2 separate regions of the Homo sapiens genome follow, and region 1 is linked to region 2. Evidence: promoter capture Hi-C in 16 types of primary human blood cells and fetal thymus (Javierre and others, 2016). All regions are on one chromosome and are shown on one strand. Each heading gives the region's core, a stretch centred on a gene start or on the middle of the fragment in contact. The rest is flanking DNA. Distances are from core to core; before and after follow the strand shown. Region 1 holds the start of SIGLEC8 (sialic acid binding Ig like lectin 8). Region 2 has its middle 13 kb from the start of SIGLEC12.

Region 1 (3,381 bases), core at 173-2,672, 57 kb after region 2:
CCAGCCACACAGTTTAAAATAATCTGTTGAGGCCAGGCACGGTGGCTCACACCTGTAATCCCAGCACTTTGGGAGGCTGAGGTGGGTGGATCATGAGGTCAGGAGATCCAGACCATCCTGGTCGACATGGTGAAACCCCGGCTCTACTAAAAATACAAAAATTAGCTGGATGTGGTGGCGTATGCCTGTAATCCTAGCTACTTGGGAGGCTGAGGCAGGAGAATCGCTTGAACCAGGGAGTCAGAGGTTGCAGTGAGCCGGGATCGCGCCACTGCACTCCAGCCTGGCGACAGAGAGAGACTCCGTCTCAAATAATAATAATAATAATAATAATAATAATCATCATCATCATCATCATCATCATCATCATCTGTTGAATTCAGGTGCACATTTCTTCTCTCAAGAAATCCTGCCCATCGCTGAAGGTGCACACCCCAGGGCTGGTGTCCTCGTTCCATGACACCTGTTCACCTGGACCCCTGGAAGCAGAGCCTGCAGGAGCAAAGCCCCAGGGCTGACAGACCCCGCCTGCTGTGCAGTAACCAGGGGAAGTGTGGCTGAGTAAGATACGGGTGGTGAAGAAACCCATTCTGATACCCAGATAGCTGCAACAAAGGGAGAAGTGTGTGCCCTTTTCAAATTGACCCTTTCCCTTCTGACATTTCTCCCTTCCAAACCCCACAGTACAACAGTTACAGCCTCAGTTTCCCAGGCCTCCTGCGAGCCAGGCTTCCCCCCGCCCCCCGTCCTTCGTGTGTATCAACATGCAGAATCCTCACCTCCACAGCCCCGTGTCCCTCTGCTCAGGCCTCCTGAGACTGAACCCCTGACCTAGGGGAGAACGACCCCACCTTGCCTGTGCCCCCCACTGAAGCTCCCGTCCTGGGGAGCTCAGACGTCAGGAGCCTCCGTGTCTCCCCTCTGCACAGTGACTCCTTGAGGACAGTGTCTGGCTCTGCTCTGTTGACCTCGTTGTGTAAAGAGGAGGTGCCCACTTCGTTGCTGCTGAGAGAGGGAGGAGAGGCTGCCTGCTCACCTCACCTGCACCCCAGTCTCTCATGGCCCTGAGTTCCACCTTTGGCTGGTATGACCTCCACAAACAGTGACAGCCCCGGGGGTGATTCAGGGGTCTGGCCAGATGGGACCCAATTTCACCTTGCAGAAAATGTTACCCAAATGGAAGGGCAAGTCCGGGAAGCAAGAAAGAGGTTGGGCCCTGCATAGGGTGGGAATCTGGATGAGTTTCTCACCCTCTCTGGCCTCAGGGTTCCCAGGAGTGGAAATGGGGTGGTGGACAGTGGATCTCCCAGGACTGACCCGGCCCTGACAGTGTCTGTGTGTGAAGTTCCTCCTCTGAGGAGGTCACTTTTCTGACTTCACCCCCAACCTCCTGCGGGACCTCCCCTAAGTCTTGAGACCTCAGTTTCTGAGAGAAGAACCCTGAGGAACAGACGTTCCCTGGCGGCCCTGGCGCCTTCAAACCCAGACATGCTGCTGCTGCTGCTGCTGCTGCCCCTGCTCTGGGGGACAAAGGGGATGGAGGGAGACAGACAATATGGGGATGGTTACTTGCTGCAAGTGCAGGAGCTGGTGACGGTGCAGGAGGGCCTGTGTGTCCATGTGCCCTGCTCCTTCTCCTACCCCCAGGATGGCTGGACTGACTCTGACCCAGTTCATGGCTACTGGTTCCGGGCAGGAGACAGACCATACCAAGACGCTCCAGTGGCCACAAACAACCCAGACAGAGAAGTGCAGGCAGAGACCCAGGGCCGATTCCAACTCCTTGGGGACATTTGGAGCAACGACTGCTCCCTGAGCATCAGAGACGCCAGGAAGAGGGATAAGGGGTCATATTTCTTTCGGCTAGAGAGAGGAAGCATGAAATGGAGTTACAAATCACAGTTGAATTACAAAACTAAGCAGCTGTCTGTGTTTGTGACAGGTAAGGCACGGGCTCCAGCACAGGCCACAGGGGAAGGTCATGAGGGGCTGAAAGGCAGGGCTGGGATGGGGCCTGGGAGGGGGTTGGGATTGAAATAAGTCGGTCTCCGGGGAGGAGCTGGACCAGAGCTTGAGCTTCCTCCAGGGCTGCACCTGAAATACCTCCTCCTGATCCTGTGTCCCCATCTTCACCAGCCCTGACCCATAGGCCTGACATCCTCATCCTAGGGACCCTAGAGTCTGGCCACTCCAGGAACCTGACCTGCTCTGTGCCCTGGGCCTGTAAGCAGGGGACACCCCCCATGATCTCCTGGATTGGGGCCTCCGTGTCCTCCCCGGGCCCCACTACTGCCCGCTCCTCAGTGCTCACCCTTACCCCAAAGCCCCAGGACCACGGCACCAGCCTCACCTGTCAGGTGACCTTGCCTGGGACAGGTGTGACCACGACCAGTACCGTCCGCCTCGATGTGTCCTGTGAGTGCTGGACCAAGATGCCCAGGTCCCTCATGGGTTGGGAGGTGTTCCTGAGGGCAGGGGATGGGGTTCAAGCCTGGACACTGGGTTCTGGGTCCCAGAATCTGGGCTGGGAGTGGGGTCAGGAGAATGCCGACTCCATTTTCCCTGTATTTGCAGCTCCTGGGAAGACAGGGCCAATGTCCCCAGTCCTTATAGTAATGTGGGTCTTCATGTCTTTCTGTCCCAGACCCTCCTTGGAACTTGACCATGACTGTCTTCCAAGGAGATGCCACAGGTAGGACAGAGCCCCCTCCCTGGGGTTGGGGGAGCAGGGCCTTCAGCTCAGGATGGGGCTGGGTCTCTCCTCATCCTGGAATCACTTTGGGAAACAGAGCTGCCACTGTGCGTGAGCCCAGGGCACAAGAGCCCACATCTCCAGCCCGCGTGACCATCTGAGCCCCTGTCCCCATCCTGTCCCTGCTCCCCTTAGACTCCTCCACACACCCCTTCCTTGGCCCCACAGCAAGGACAGGGTGACATTCACACAGCTGGATCAGACTCCCAATTTTTTTGGTTTTTGTTCGTTTTTATTTTGGGACCAGACTTTCAAGTTTCTTGTCAGGCATCTCCTGAATACTTCCTCTGTCTGATCTTTCTGTTTTCCCAGTAGTTTCGATCTAAGTACTTCTGCCCAGATGATACAGTCACATGGGCAGAAATTCAAAATGCACAGCAAAGTCTGTCCTCCAGTGCCCATCCCCCTCCACGGAACTGACCAGCGTCCGTCCAGGCTGCCCTGAGTCTTGGTTTGTGCACCTGGAGGATCTCAGAGGTGGTTTGACATCGTAGTGAGACTGTCCACCCCGTCCTCTAGGACCGTGTGTGATTTCACTGCACAGATGGACTCTGACTTTGTGGCATCCCTTAAGGAAAATCATGGCACAAATATCCTTCCGCAGAAACTGTGCAGTGGATAGTCTTGTA
Region 2 (3,135 bases), core at 410-2,909:
TATAAATCTTAATCATGTGTACAAAGCATCTTCACAGCAACACCTAGATTAATGTTTCATTGAATATCCTGGAGACTGTTACCTAGACACACTGACACATAAAACTGAATATATCAATATCAGAAAATATGTCTATTACAAAAAGAAGTATTAATGGAGGTAAAAGGGACCACTTCGTAGGGATTAAAGATTCAATCTACTAGGAAGATACATTTGAAATGTACCTGCACATGATAAAATAGCTTCAGAATACATAAGGCAAGAATAGGCAAAGTGAAAACAAAATAGCCTAATCCACATTTATGGAGGGCAATTTTTAACACATATTTTACAATAACTGATGGTACACACAAACAAGAGAATTGTTAAGGATATGCAACATAGTATACATAAATAACATGATTAACAAACTTGGTCTATGGCCATAGGTAGAAACTGCTCCAAACAACTGCAGAAAACATATTCTATTTGAGCACACATGGAGTATTAAAAATTTTTTTTTTACCATATACTGGGCCAAAAGTATATTTCAACATATGTCAGAGAAGTGAAACCATACAGAATATGTTAATTGATTTCAATGTTATTAAGCTCAAAATAAGTAATAAAATGTAATTATATACCAATGTCTATGTAACTGTACATAATTAGTGGAAACTTAGAAAATCCCTTAAAATAAGTCATAGATTAAATAATCAAAACATACAGCCAGGCGTGGCGGCTCATGCCTGTAATCCCAACACTTTGGGAGGCCGAGGTGGGCAGATCACTTGAGGTCAGGATTTCAAGACTAGCCTGGGCAACATGGCGAAACCCTGTCTCTACTGAAAAAAAAAAAATACAAAACTTAGCTGGGTGTGGTGGCATGTGCCTGTAATCCCAGCTACTCAGCAGGCTGAAGCAGGAGAATTGCTTGGATCTGGGAGGCACTGCACTCCAGCCTGGGCAACAGTGAGACTCCATCTTAAAAAAAATTGTCATCATTATCATCATAACACAAATAAGAAATTATTTAAAACTGGATACTGAAAATACTATAAAACTTTTAGAGTAAAACTAAAGCATTTATTAGAGGAACTATATATAACCTTAAATGTATATGCTAGGGTGGGAAAAGCTAAAATTTAATAAACTAAGCTTTAATTTCAAGAACTTAGAAAAAGAACAACAAAACCAAAAGGAATTGGAGAGAAGGAAATATCAAATGATAAGAGCACATAGCATAGAAAACATATTCAGTAGAAAGGAACAACATCACGAACAGCTAGTTTTTGATACAAATAATAAAATGGGCAAACCTCAGTTGCAATTAGTCCAGAAATATAGAAGGCAAAAATAACTAGTATGCAGGAATATAAGGGAGAAAACATTACTTAATCTAATGCAAAATAAGCAGAAAGTAGTAAGCTGTATGAAAAGTTTTGAATACTTATAGAAAATGGACAAATTTCTGGGAAAAAATGTGTTACCTAACGCTGTAGGCATGGTTCAGTTTGTATCTGTCCTTCTGACCTCTCAGTCTCAAAATGAAAAGCCAAATGTATTTATGAAATTCTGCCACTAGGGGGAGTTCCTTCAGTCCCGCTCTCAGGTTCACTGTGGTTGAGTTTGTCATGATGCAAAAGTCCACTCCTTGCTGTGCCAGTTGATTGAGCAGAACCACTTGAAAACCAAGATGAAATGTTTTCCTCCTCAAGCAATGGCCATAAAGAACTGCCCATGAGGTCACACATGTGATTTCATGAAAAAATAAGGCAATATCCCAGGAGGAGTTGTAGGAATCTGGGTCACCTGCTCATGTCACTTGGTTGTGATTTCTGGACTTCTTGAAGCCCATCTTGAAGTCAGTTATATCATATCCAAATTCACTTCATAATGGATTATTGCTTCACATGCCCAACCTTTTAGCTTGATGGGTCACAGAGCACCTACTTCATGATGGGCAGTTTGTATTATATATTCGCTTCATATCCCATAGTAAGGGTATCAGTCTCTACCAAGGCCTGGTAATAAGTCAGAAGCTCTTTCTCAAGAGATCCATCATGTTCTCAAAAACAGAGCATGGCTTTGCAACAAAAGTCCTAGGGGTCTTCACTCTGGGGCACACCGACATTCTTAATTATTCCAGATAATTCAAGTATAATTTAATCTTGAGTTATAAACCTCAAGTTGTAAAGCTTCTTATACTACAGCCTGGACCTGCTGCAGAGCCTTTCCTTGAACTGAGAACAACTCCAAACTGGAAGTCTTAAGATTTACGTAGTAAGTGGGTTAGAGCATCCAATCATAGTTGTACATTTCCTCCAAAATCCAAAGGTGACTATCAAGAATTGAGCTTCTTTGGTAGGGGTAGGATGACCTCCCATTTTATCTCTGATCCTCTTTAAAGCTAATGTGCTCAACTTATCTCTAGGGATTAAGTAATGACACATTGCCTTTGACAATTCCATCATCCTGATTGAAAGCAGTGTGATTATATCCGTTGCAGTATTTCTTTCTGTCATCCCCAATAAACTGATCATAAATCTTAATCCTGTGTACAAAGCACCTTCACAGCAACACCTAGATTAACGTTTCATTGAATGTTCTGGGGACTATAACCTAGAAACATTGGCACATTAAACTGACCATCATAAGTATGTCAATATCAGAAAATATATCTTTTACCAAACAAAGTGTTAATGGAGATAAAAGGGCCAATTTTTTAAGGATTAAATATTCAATATACTAGGAAGATACATTAGAAATTTACCTGCACATGATAAAATAGCTTCAGAATATGTAAGGCAAAAATAGGCAAAGAATGGCTTCAGAATATATAAGGTGAAAAAAAATAGGCTGAACCAGGTTAGTCTTCACAGAGCTTTTCATGGACACTTGTGCTGTCTTTACCAGTATACTACTTGAGGGGTAAGAGCAGAGGAGATGAGGGTACAGGTTGAACTTTTGTCATTTTTTATTTTCCAACATTTTTAACTCTCTAAACCTTTGGGTTATTTTTTCTCCATTATGCCAAGAAAGTTCTGACATCATCCTCGTTAAATTTGGGTCATTGTTGAGTCCATTTTCATTGGAATATAGTGATAATATTGTTTCAATCAAACATAAAGCAAATTCCTTCATCCACCTGAGAGC

Evidence for each region. The method cuts DNA at HindIII sites, captures the fragments that hold promoters and counts their contacts. A CHiCAGO score of 5 or more calls a contact.
Region 1: the fragment with the promoter of SIGLEC8 here is called in contact with a fragment that was not itself captured in region 2 in 4 of 17 cell types (monocytes, megakaryocytes, activated CD4 T cells and 1 more); the score reaches 7.4 in monocytes.

The regions. Positions count from the first base shown.
Region 1 is chr19:51,456,495-51,459,875 of GRCh38, reverse strand. SIGLEC8 (sialic acid binding Ig like lectin 8) reads left to right here and starts at 1,422. Exons shown (of 7, transcript NM_014442.3): 1 at 1,422-1,942; 2 at 2,137-2,415; 3 at 2,645-2,692. The coding sequence starts at 1,489. The HindIII fragment of the contact is 20,005 bases long and covers 1-3,381 here.
Region 2 is chr19:51,513,514-51,516,648 of GRCh38, reverse strand. No RefSeq gene overlaps it. Among named protein-coding and RNA genes, the nearest start is that of SIGLEC12, 13 kb to the right of the region's middle. The HindIII fragment of the contact is 1,040 bases long and covers 1,140-2,179 here.